Regions from separate parts of the Homo sapiens genome. Here regions 2, 3 and 4 are each linked to region 1. The links are contacts of gene promoters, found by promoter capture Hi-C in human tissues and cell types (Jung and others, 2019). All regions are on one chromosome and are shown on one strand. Each heading gives the region's core, a stretch centred on a gene start or on the middle of the fragment in contact. The rest is flanking DNA. Distances are from core to core; before and after follow the strand shown. Region 1 holds the start of ZNF551 (zinc finger protein 551). Region 2 overlaps ZNF17 (zinc finger protein 17). Region 3 holds the start of ZNF264 (zinc finger protein 264). Region 4 overlaps ZNF547 (zinc finger protein 547).

Region 1 (2,700 bases), core at 95-2,594:
TGCAAAAGTCAACATGTAAAACTCATATGCCCTTCCATACACTAACAATGAAAAATCTGAAAAGGAAATTAAGAAAACAATATCATTTGCAATAGTAATGTATATGGTCAAATGATCTCAACAAGGCTACCAAGACCACTCAATGGGGAAACGATGATCTTTTCAGCAAATGATGCTGGGAAAATGAAATATTCACATGCTAAGGAATGAAGGTGAACCCTTACCTAACACCAAAAACACAAATGAACTCAAAATGGACTAAAAACCTAAACATAAGACCCAAAACTATAAAACACTTAAAAGAAAATATAGGGTGAAAGTTTTATGACATTGAATTTGGCCATAATTTCTTGGATTTGACACCAAATACACATGTGACAAAAGAAAAATAGACCAATTAGACTTCATGAAAATTAAAACTTTAGTATATCAAACAATAACAAAGTGAAAGAGGAACCTATTTAATGAGAACAAAATACAGGTTGAATATCCCTGAGCCAAAAATCTAAAATCCAAAATGCTCCAAAATCCAAATTTTTTTTTTCTTTTTTTTTTTTTGGAGACGGAGTCTCCCCCTGTCGCCCAGGCTGGAGTGCAATGGCGTGATCTCGACTCACTGCAACCTCTGCCTCCCAGGTTCAAACGATTCTCCTGCCTCAGCCTCCCAAGTACTGGGATTACAGGCGCTCGCCACCATGCCCGGCTAATTTTTGTATTTTTAGTAGAGACAGGGTTTCACCATGTTGGCCAGGCTGGTCTCGAACTCCTGATCGCGTGATCCACCCACCTTGGCCTCCCAAAGTGCTGGGATTACAGGCGTGAACCACTGCGCCCGGCCCGCCCGACTAATTTTTGTATTTTTAGTAGAGATGGGGTTCCGCCATGTTGGCCAGCCTGGTCTCGAACTTCTGACCTCAGGTGATCCGCCCGCCTCGGCCTTCTAAAGTGCTGGGATTACAGGCGTGAGCCACCGCGCCCAACCCCCTGAAATAATATTTGTTTGCCTCTAGGGGCACCCTGAGCTTCGTGGAGTCTGAAATAATGTCTCTAAACACTTAAGTGATCAGTTACGGAAAACACTTCCCAGAAATCTGGGAAAAGCCCCTTTAAGAAGGAGTAAATACCTCCTTCTCCCCTAGAGGCCGAAGTCGCCATTTCCCTGCACGGGGCACAGCACCTCAGAATACAAGTTCGCAGAGGTCAAAGCAGTGGACACACTCCGAAGAGCTCCGTGGAGTTTTGGAAACTACATTATCCAGAGTGCAGAGCGCAAAACGGCGGCGGAGTTGAGCCAATGACAGCCCAGGATAGCAACACTTCCGCGCACGCGCAGCGCGACGGGCCGGAACTTCCGGCGTCCTCCTCGTGGCGGTCATTTTGGCCTCTGTCCTGTTTGTCCAGCCCGCCAGTTTCTGCAGTGGAGGTCGCGACTGAGGGACGGGACAGAGAAGTCGCGAAAGTGGGCCAGAGGTTCTGCGACACCACCTCGGGTGAGCTGCGCCAGGCCCGGGATAGGGACTGTTGTGTTCGAATGCCCGCCCCGGTCGGCCGCCGCTCCCCGCCTAGTCCACGGAGCTCAATGGCGGCAGTCGCGCTGAGGGACTCGGCTCAGGTGAGTTGTGCGTCCTCCGGGTCTCGCCTACCTCCCCCAGCAGAAGCCTTAAGGCCCAGTGAGGGATGCCTGCTCACAGCCCTGCAGCCCAGGCCCCAGTACCCTGGACAAGAAGGCGCTTGTGGATTGGACCCGTTTGTGACGCCCAGTGTGTACGGAAATGTGACGGGCAGTTGACTGGCGCGTGCAGAACTTGGAGCTGCGACTAAGCTGGGGGGGATTCAGGAGCCTGGGGTCCGTCTCGGGTCTGCAGGAACATAGAGTGAGGCAGAGTTGCACCTGACGAATTTGACGATTCTGAGGACACTGGCAGCCTTCGAGATTTGTGAACAGATAGGGACACTGGGCTAGGATTTCCTAAAGCTATCCAAAAGTTGCTCAGGGGAAGAACAGGCTGAAGAGAGGTAATAGTAGTTAGGCATAGGAAGACTGAGTTCTTGTCCAAGCTCACGCAGCTGGTAAAGTCAGCACTGAGAACTGAGGTGCGGAGATAGTGCAGCCAGCCCAGGCCACCTGGCTCCAAAACTGGACCAGGGTCATTGGGCGACCTGAGCCTCGCCACTCGTCTAGCCTTGGGCCCTGAGACTTTGAGCAAATACAAAGCCCAGAGTCTTAAGTCCAGGTTAGATTATATGAAGCTGTTGGCAGCCGGGGGAAAGGAGATGTAGAAGGTTGTCCAAGGCAAAGTTACCAGTATATGCTAAGTTTGGAGAGGAGGCTAAGATAGTTCAGGAACCTACAATTATTTTCTTTTCATGAGAACAGGGAGCAGTGTAGTAGAAGTCAGACCCGGAATGGTTCCCTGAGAAGTTGAGTTGTCTATTCGTTACTTAATAGTAACAGTGGGAGGTTTGGAGTGGAAGAGGGAGGTGATCTGGTTCTGGTCTTATTAGGCTCCCTGTGGCTGCAGCATGGGAAGCCAACTGAAGGATGAGGTGGGGAGACCTGGGAGGAGACTACTGGGATAGGCCAGGTGAATGTGATAGAATGTGATAGGCCAAAATGGTGGCTGTGAAGATGCGAGAAGCAGTTGGATTCTGGATTCATTTTTTAAGTAGGGCTGCCTGAATTTTTAGTTTTGAGAAAGA
Region 2 (2,793 bases), core at 56-2,555, 270 kb before region 1:
GCCTGAGCCACTGCACCCAGCCAGATTTGACCTAGATTCTAAGAGGCTTCCTCTGCCTGCAGAATGGAGGACAGAGTGAGAGTTAGGGAAGAACCAAGGATACCTGGGTGATAATTCCTGCCACAGTCCAGTGGAGGTTGGTGGTGGCTGGACACGAGTGGCGGCTGTGGAGGTGGGAGGGGTGGGTGGCTTCTGTAGGTTTTGATCTAGAGCTGCTCACATTTTTTGATGTACAGAGCGAGGAAGCTCGGGAGGTAGGATGCAAGAGGGAGTCAGGAATGGCCCCATTGTTTTGGCCTTGTTGAGAAGGTTGGATGTTCCAGCAACTAAGATGTGGTAAATTTTGTAGTAGGGGGAGTTTAATAGAGCATATGAAGAACGAGGTTTGGGCTAAGTCAAAAATGTTCCAGAGACTCGAGTAGAGGTGCCAGACTGGCAGTTGAACACACAGGAATGGAGTTCAATGGAGGTGTTCAGGATGGAGACATCTACTATATGATAGCCAGCGTGTACACCATGGTAAATCTGTGGGTCAGATTTAGGAATAGACATCTTTAGATTCTGGAGGCAATGCTGTTAGGGAGAAGGAAGGGGAAGGAAGGGGCTGAGGACTGGATCTTTCTGTTGGGCACCTGGATGGGGTTGCTGGGCATCACAAAGACAGATGAGGGAGTGGATGGACTGAGGATATGTGTGTGTGTATTTGTGTGTTTATGTTGGAGATGGCCTTTGGAAAATAAAGGCTTTTGAGGGGGAGAGTGCACATAAAAGTTGGATGGTGAGGCATCTCCACAAAAGAGGTGAGATGATAGTGAGGTCTGGGAGGGGCTTAGTACCCTATTATGGACTCAACAGGGTTTTGTGGCAAATATTGGTTGTACCTGGGTAGTTTCACGCGAACTCTGAGACTATTTTGGCAGAAGATGGGATCATCTAGAAGCATTGCTAGTCCTGGGGTGGGGATGGTGTTGGGGAGGTCAGTGTATCTGGGCTTTGGATTAGAGTTGGGGGATAGAGAAAGTCGTGACTGCTTATGGGACAACATATACATGTAGAAGGGGGAGACAGCCAAGATCTGGAACTCAAAGGAGGTGTGCAAGAATATGTGGGTTTGGAAAGCTGAGGTCAAAGAAAGAAACAGGATTGGGTTGGGAGACGTTCAAAGCAATGTTTCCTAAACATTGCATTCTGGTCATTCTAGGGGCAAATACGATTCTGGTTGCATTTGTCATGCACTGCAGGATTTCATGTGCAGAGTGGCATGGTAACACGCCATGGAAATACTCCCAGTTGGGCTGTGGTGGTTGTTAGTGTTGCCAAGAGTGGAGGTGTTGGATACATGAGGGAGGTGCCATCCAAAGCCTGAGTGGAGGAGCATGAATAGATGGTTCCACCTCTGGCACTGGGCACTTAAGGGAGGAGGGTGAGTCCAAGTTTGGTTATCTGAGAGGCAAGATCTGGGTGACTCTAGGGAAATTGAGTGACAAAAGAAAGGTAGGCCCCCATGTGCCAGGTGTTTTTTTTGTTTTGTTTTGTTTTTTGAGATGGAGTCTAGCTCTGTTGCCCAGGATGGAGTGCAGTGGCGCGATCTCGGCTCACTGCAACCTCTGCCTCCCAGGTTCAAGCAGTACTCTGCCTCAGCCTCCCGAGTAGCTGGGATTACAGGTGCCTGCCACCATGCCCGGCTAATTTTTGTATTTTTAGTAGAGATGGGGTTTTACTATCTTGGCCAGGCAGGTCTTGAACTCCTAACCTTGTGATCTACCTGCCTCAGCCTCCCAAAGTGCTGGGATTAGAGGCATGAGCCACCATGCCCGGCCATGTGCCAGGTTTTGATGGCGCTTTTCAGTCTCTTTCCCCCACCCATCTTTGTTCTATACTGGAGTCAGTGATCAGTGGCAATGAGGGGAGAGCAGGTACAGGTGCCATGAAGACCTAGTGTCTCTTCCTCCTTCAGAAGTGGGTGGAGGCTAGCAGGGTGTGGATGTGTGTGGGTGTGGTGAGGAGCACTGAAGGTCCTGGAGAGGGAAGTGTATCAGTGATTGTACCCACAGGATTTCAATCTGTGAACAAGAGTGAGTGATTACAGAAAAGCCAATGACATTGAAATAATTTTTTTTTTCAATTGGTGAGAAATCATACCTGGATGAAATGATTTTTATTCCTTTCATTTCCTGAGTGCAGGGAGCATGCCACATCACATAAAGCCACAGAGGAAATAGCGGATTTGGTCAGGTGGCAGATGCACAGTTGAAGGGAGAGCATATATCAGTGGCTTTATTGGGGTTTTGGCTGGAAAGGCATGCAGGGGAGAGTGAAGAGCTTAAGACTGGGTAGTTTGCATGATTTTGGCAGCCTTGGGGTATAGGGACTATCCCTCCTTTTGTGGTACAAGCCTTGTGTTGATTTAGGGCAGGAGAAAGAATCATGTGTGATTGTTAGATAGGAGGCAGTTCAGTCTATGGGATCTGGATTATAAGAGAAATGTTAAAATGCTGGTTGTTATTTTGGTCCTCTAATTCTTAGATTTCAAGTAGATAAATACAGATCTAAGGAAACAGAATAAGAAGTTGCTCATGGGCCGGGCGTGGTGGCTCATGCCTGTAATCCCAGCAATTTGGGAGGCCAAGGCAGGCAGTTCACGAGGTCAGGAGTTCTAGACCAGCCTGAACAACATGGTGAAACCCCATCTCTACTAAAAATACAAAAATTAGCCAGTCATGGTGGCACGCGCCTGTAATCCCAGCTACTCAGGAGGCTGAGGCAGGAGAATCACTTGAATCCGGGAGGCGG
Region 3 (2,700 bases), core at 138-2,637, 490 kb before region 1:
AACCAGCTCCAGTGTCCCATAGAACTGATATTTATGGTTTCTTTTGAATCAACACATTATAGACATTGAGCCTCCCCTTCCTAAAACTCGAGACACTTTTATTTGTCTTATCTGATTTCCTTTCTCAGGAAACCAAGCATCAGGCCTCCCAGATAGTATAAAGAAACTGAAACTTACTGGATTACCACATCTGGAAAAACGAGATGCTATACCCCTTACCCATGATGATTGCCTAACTGACCATCTGCTGCCTGTTGACCCATTCCTCTTCCTTACCCCTTCCTAATTCCTGTTTTCTCAAACATAGTTACACTTCTTCCCTGATGTATAAACCCCTAGTTTTAGTCAGTTGAGGAAAGAGATTTGAGATTGATCTCCCATTTTCCTCAGCTGCAGCACCGAATAAAGCCTTCATCCCTGACAATACTCATTGTCTTGCTGACTGGCCTTCTGTGCAGCAAGCAGCAGGATCTAGATGCAAGGACCTGGCCTTTCTGGTAATATTGTCATCAACCATTTAATGATGTAGACTTGGTCCCCGGCTCATGCTCTGTGTATTTTCTTCTCCATCTACATGCATTGCCTTGATGGTCTCACTCAATATCATGACTTGAAATAACAGTGTAAGGTAACTCCTAAATTCATATATTCATGCTCAAACCTTCTTCCAACATTCAGTCGTAAGTCGAATTGCCTGTGACAGAGATACTTTGTGGTTCTGTAGACATTTCAAACTAACCATCCTGAGCCTCCGAACCTCCTCCACTTGCAGCCTCCCCACCTCAGAAGTGGGCAAATCCACTTTTTGTGTGGTCTGGGCCAAATACATGACTCCCTGCATCACGTAGAGGCTGTGCTGGTCCAAAGAAGGCTCAAAAGAGGGCAGTTTGCGCACACAACGTGTCGGGGCAGGGCTTCCAGATGATCATTCGGCTTTTTTGTGTCTTCCAAGATGATGATCCGGGGAGGAGGGATGTGAAAGGGGGTCAGTCGCCAGGCGAGCTGAGGACCCAGTTCTGCGCCTTTGCCTGTGCCCTGACCTGAAGGAAAGTCCCTGTCTCCCGAGCTCCGATTTTCCCGAGAGAAGAATGCAATGTAACCCTTGCCCCTCGGTTCCCTCCCTCCATCCTTCCCCTCGAGTTGTGCCCACCGTAAAGAGGTGGGTCTGGAGCGTCTCCTCGGGTCCTGGAGTGCCTTTCCCTGGGAGGAAAACTTGCGCCGTGAAGCGTTCCTCCCGTTGTTGAACACATGAGGAAAACTACACTACTTAGAAGGCTGTGCATTATGCGTACGGCGGGAGCTGGGCCAACGACGGCCTAGGACGGGGACGTTTCCGACGGCTCACGCCGGTGGGGGCGGGACTTCCGGGTTGCTCGCTGCGGACGCCATTTTCTTCTGCACTTCTGTCTGGAGAGGTCTGTAGCCACTGAGGGCCCCGGTCGGGGCCGCTTTGCAGGTCCCTAGTCAGGACCGAGCAGGGGAGTAGGATAGGAATCCCCGCCGCACCTTTGTACGAGCCTGACCCCTTCCGTGGGTTTGTTCCTGGGTCGCCGTCAAGCTGCGGTCTCTCCTCCCCCGCCCTTCAGCCCCGCGGTCTCCAGGGGCGGCGCCCTGGGTCTGGAACGCGGTTGCCACCGAGGAGGCGGCGGCCCTGCGTCTGGAACGCCGTTGCCACCGAGGAGGCGGCGGCCCCGAGCGCGCCTGGAAGCCCCGGGCAACCGGCCAGGGTCGGGCACAGGTGGGGTCCGTCAGGCCGCCCGGGGCTCCTCTGTCCCAGCTCTGCGGCCCAGGGGGTGACGTGATGGCGGCAGCGGTGCTGACGGACCGGGCCCAGGTGAGTGGACGGTGGCTTCGCGGTTGCCGCTTCCTTGCCAGCGCTGAGGCGGTTTCCGAAGTGGGTGGGAGCCCAGGTATCCCCTGGATTTGTCTTCGCAGTCGTCGTTCGCTTTGGTGTGTGGAGCTGGTTTGCCACTTAATTTATACCTGGCCGTAAGGAGTGTTGGGCCTACTGGAAGGAGCTCCGTAGGTTGTTGAGTGAATGATGCTTCCTCTGGGGACTCCCATCATCCTTGGCCTGCAAGCATTCTCTGGTGGACCAGGTCTCATTCCAGCATGAATTGGGGGCCTGAGGGGGGAAGGGGAGGGCAGGGCAGTAGCAAGCCGACAAATGCGCGAGCAGAGACAAGGTATGTTGTATGTTTAAGGAGGCTCAGGAGGGTGTGTAAGGTTGCCATGGTTTTCCTGCGGCCGCTGAGACGTGGAGGGCAACAGTGTGTGGTCTTTTCCTGGATGTTCTAGCCATCCGCAACTACTGCAGACATTGTGGCCAGTCAGATGCCCTTACTCTCATCGCTACAGCCTGCATTATCCTTGGCCGCTCGTGTTCCGTGGCCCCAAAGTATCCTGGCGTCAGAGACAAGTTCTGTCGGAACCCAGTAAGGAAAGAGGCCGATGGTTGGTTCATTGTGGAATTTCCTTGGGGGATCTGGGAGACCCAGGGAGATCCCAGAGGGCATGGGAAGCTGGTCTGGAGCCTGTCGTTCCCCAAGTAGATGCAGCCCTTCCAGTGCCGCTCTGTGGGGTCAGTGAGGAATGCTGAGCTTTTTGTGCCCGTGTTCACATACTTTTTTTTGTTTTGAGACAGGGTCTCACTCTGTCGCCCAGGCTGGAGTACAGTGGTGCACTCTCAGCTCACTGCAG
Region 4 (2,779 bases), core at 1-2,500, 310 kb before region 1:
GTAAGATCTTCCCATCGTTGCCCATTTCTCACGGTTTCCCTCTTCCTTCAGGGTCCCCTGGCGATGGCAGAAATGAACCCTGCACAGGTGAGTGGAGTGTTTTCTACCTTTCACCTACCAGTTATCTCATAGATGGTTTTGGCACCTCCATGTAAAGAAAAGTGGTGTCCAGAGACTCTCTTTCTGTCTTTCTCCCTCTCTTATGTCTGAAAAGTGAGTGATTCCACCAGTTCTAGTATCTTAAATTAGGTCTGGGATTTTTGTTTGATTGTTTTAAGTTTACTGTGACACCTTACCTGGATGGCCCTGGATTATGTGGAGTGGCTCCCATTTTTGACAGTTGACGTGGTAACATCTGTCAGAGTGTCATGGGCACAAGATTAAGAATGTTTCAGTGTTTAGAGGAGAGACTGAACTGGATTTTTAGGGAACTGCAAGTGTCTGTTATATCGGATAGGAATAGGGAGCAGAGTGGGAGGTGGCTAGAGACACACAAACATCAGGCCTGGAATGACAGCCTAGGTCCTGGGTCTCTAATCTAAGGGAGGTGGTAGATGGGGAAGATTTGAAGCAGAAGAGGGCAGTGATAGGACCCTAGCTTAAGGAACTTTCTTTGGCGTCTGAGTGGAGGACAGACTGTGGAGGTGAGGGTAATGGCAGGGAGATCTGAGAGGATGTTCCTGCAGCAGTCTAGGTGGATGTTGGTGGTGACTTGTCAAGAGTAGCGGTGGCTTCAGGATGTGTTTTGAACTGGAGCTGCCCACATTTTATGATGTAGAGAGTGAGGCAGCTGGGGGGGTGGGATAGAAGGGGAATCAGGAGTGGCCCCATGGTTTTTGTTTGGAAGCATAGATGCTCCATCAGCTAAGATGGGAGAAGTCAGCAGTATTAGGAATTTTCAGAGTGAGTGTGAGGAGTCAGTGTTTGTTCAAGCCACAGATGTCTCAGAGACTCCTGGTGGAGGAGTTCAGGTTGGAGACGTCCACACTATGGTGGCTGTCGTATGGACCAGGATGAAGCCATGGATTCAGTTTAGGTGACAGCATCTCTAGGTTATGGTGGCAGTGCTGTTCGAAGACAGAGAATTGGAATGGGGCATGAGAACTGGGTCTCTTACTGGGTAGCTGTGCAGTGGTGGAGGAGTCACTAGACAAATGAGGGAATGGAGTGTTTGTGGGGATGAGTGTATGTGAGATGGTGGGGTATAGGAGTGAGAAAGACTTCTGAAGGAGAGTGGACATGATGGGGTTGCTGAGGAGGGTAATAGGGTGAGGTCGGAGAGTTGCTAAGCATCAGTTGGAATGAGATGAGGATGGGAATTCTATTAGTCTGTTTTCATATTGCTACAAAGAACTACCTGAGACTGGGTACTTTATGAAGAAAAGAAGTTTAATTGACTCACAGTTCTTTTTTTTTTTTTTTTTTTTTTTTGAGATGTGGCCCAGGCTGGAGTGCAGTGGCACAATCTCGGCTCACTGCAATCTCTCCCTGCCAGGTTCAAGCGATTCTTCTGCCTCAGCCTCCTGAATAGCTGGGACGACAGACTCACCCCACTACGCCCAGCTAATTTTTGTATTTTTAGTAGAGATGGGCTTTCACCATGTTGGCCAGGATGGTCTTGATCTCCTGACCTCGTGATCCATCCTCCTCAGCCTCCCAAAGTGTTGGGATTACAGGCGTGAGCCACCGCACCCAGCCCATAGTTCTTCAGGCTTAACAGGAAGCATAACTCGGAGGCCTCAGGAAACTTACAATCCTGTGTCCATGAGGCAGGACACAGCTGAGAGTATGTGAAGTCCTCACATGGTTTGGGCACCTGACAGTGAAGTGAGAAACAGGGCCATGTAGGGAACCTTCAACCCAGGGCTTAGGGCTGCCCCCGGTGCTAGGGAACTTTGGTGTTCTGGGGCAGGACTGGGAGTGAATTGGATGCTGAGCGTATTTGCCGTGCACCACCTGGTTTCTGTGTGCAGAGTGGCCTGTTAGGAGGTGAAGGAAATGCCTGTGGTGTGGGCTGGGAGGTGTCTGTGGAATTGACTGGAGTGGAGGTGTGAGAGATGGGATTGGAGTGCTGTCCAAAGAGTGATGTGCAGGCAGGAGGAGTGTGAATGGAGGGCCTCAGGCCCTGGCCCTGGTAGCTCAAGGGAGGAGGATGAGTCTGAGTTTGGTTGTCTTGGGAGGCAAGATCTGGGTGACTCCATGGAAACTGGCTGGCAGGAGAGGATGGATCCCCCCACGGGAGGCCCACATTCCTTTTCTACCTTATCTTCCATCTGTTTCCTCTGTGTGCTGGACACGGTGGCCAATGTCAATATGGAGAGAAAAGTCACTCATGCCACCTGGATGTGGTTTCTCTTCCACATTGGGAGGGTGTAGAGATTGAGGAAGGAAAGGAGGTGTAGGGGAGAGGGATGAGTTCCTGGAGAGAGAAAAGTAGCAGTGATTGTACCCATTGGGGTTTTTTGTTTTTTTTTTTTTAGATGGAGTCTTGCTGTGTTGTCACCCAGGCTGGAGTGCAGTGGCATGATCTTGGCTCACTGCAACCTGCACCTCCTGGATTCAAGCAGTTCTGCCTCAATCTCCCAAGTAGCTAGGACTACAGGCATGTGCCGCCATGCCCACCTAATTTTTGTATTTTTAGTAGAGATGGGATTTCACTGTGTTGGCCAGGCTGGTCTTGAACTCCTGACCTCAGGTGATCTGCCCGCCTCAGCCTCCCAAAGTGCTGGGATTATAGGCATGAGCCACTGTGCCTGGCCCCCATGGAGTTTTAATTTAT

The links. The method cuts DNA at HindIII sites, captures the fragments that hold promoters and counts their contacts. A contact is called where the count stands out against the background at its distance.
Region 2: a contact is called between a fragment that was not itself captured here and the fragment with the promoter of ZNF551 in region 1, in 1 of the 25 tissues and cell types used here (liver).
Region 3: the fragment with the promoter of ZNF264 here is called in contact with the fragment with the promoter of ZNF551 in region 1 in 1 of the 25 tissues and cell types used here (liver).
Region 4: a contact is called between a fragment that was not itself captured here and the fragment with the promoter of ZNF551 in region 1, in 1 of the 25 tissues and cell types used here (dorsolateral prefrontal cortex).

Annotation. Positions count from the first base shown.
Region 1 is chr19:57,680,633-57,683,332 of GRCh38, forward strand. ZNF551 (zinc finger protein 551) reads left to right here and starts at 1,345. Exons shown (of 3, transcript NM_138347.5): 1 at 1,345-1,612. The coding sequence starts at 1,532. RefSeq lists an enhancer at 1,037-1,660 and a silencer at 1,716-1,785. The HindIII fragment of the contact is 9,267 bases long and covers 1-2,700 here.
Region 2 is chr19:57,414,988-57,417,780 of GRCh38, forward strand. All of the region lies in intron 2 of ZNF17 (zinc finger protein 17), which reads left to right. Among named protein-coding and RNA genes, the nearest start is that of ZNF17, 5.2 kb to the left of the region's middle. The HindIII fragment of the contact is 5,457 bases long and covers 1-2,793 here.
Region 3 is chr19:57,190,113-57,192,812 of GRCh38, forward strand. ZNF264 (zinc finger protein 264) reads left to right here and starts at 1,388. Exons shown (of 4, transcript NM_003417.5): 1 at 1,388-1,834. The coding sequence starts at 1,802. RefSeq lists enhancers at 1,224-1,283, 1,304-1,393, 1,404-1,463 and a silencer at 1,634-1,903. The HindIII fragment of the contact is 13,408 bases long and covers 1-2,700 here.
Region 4 is chr19:57,368,493-57,371,271 of GRCh38, forward strand. ZNF547 (zinc finger protein 547) reads left to right here. Exons shown (of 4, transcript NM_173631.4): 2 at 52-87. The coding sequence starts at 64. Among named protein-coding and RNA genes, the nearest start is that of ZNF547, 6.3 kb to the left of the region's middle. The HindIII fragment of the contact is 8,803 bases long and covers 1-2,779 here.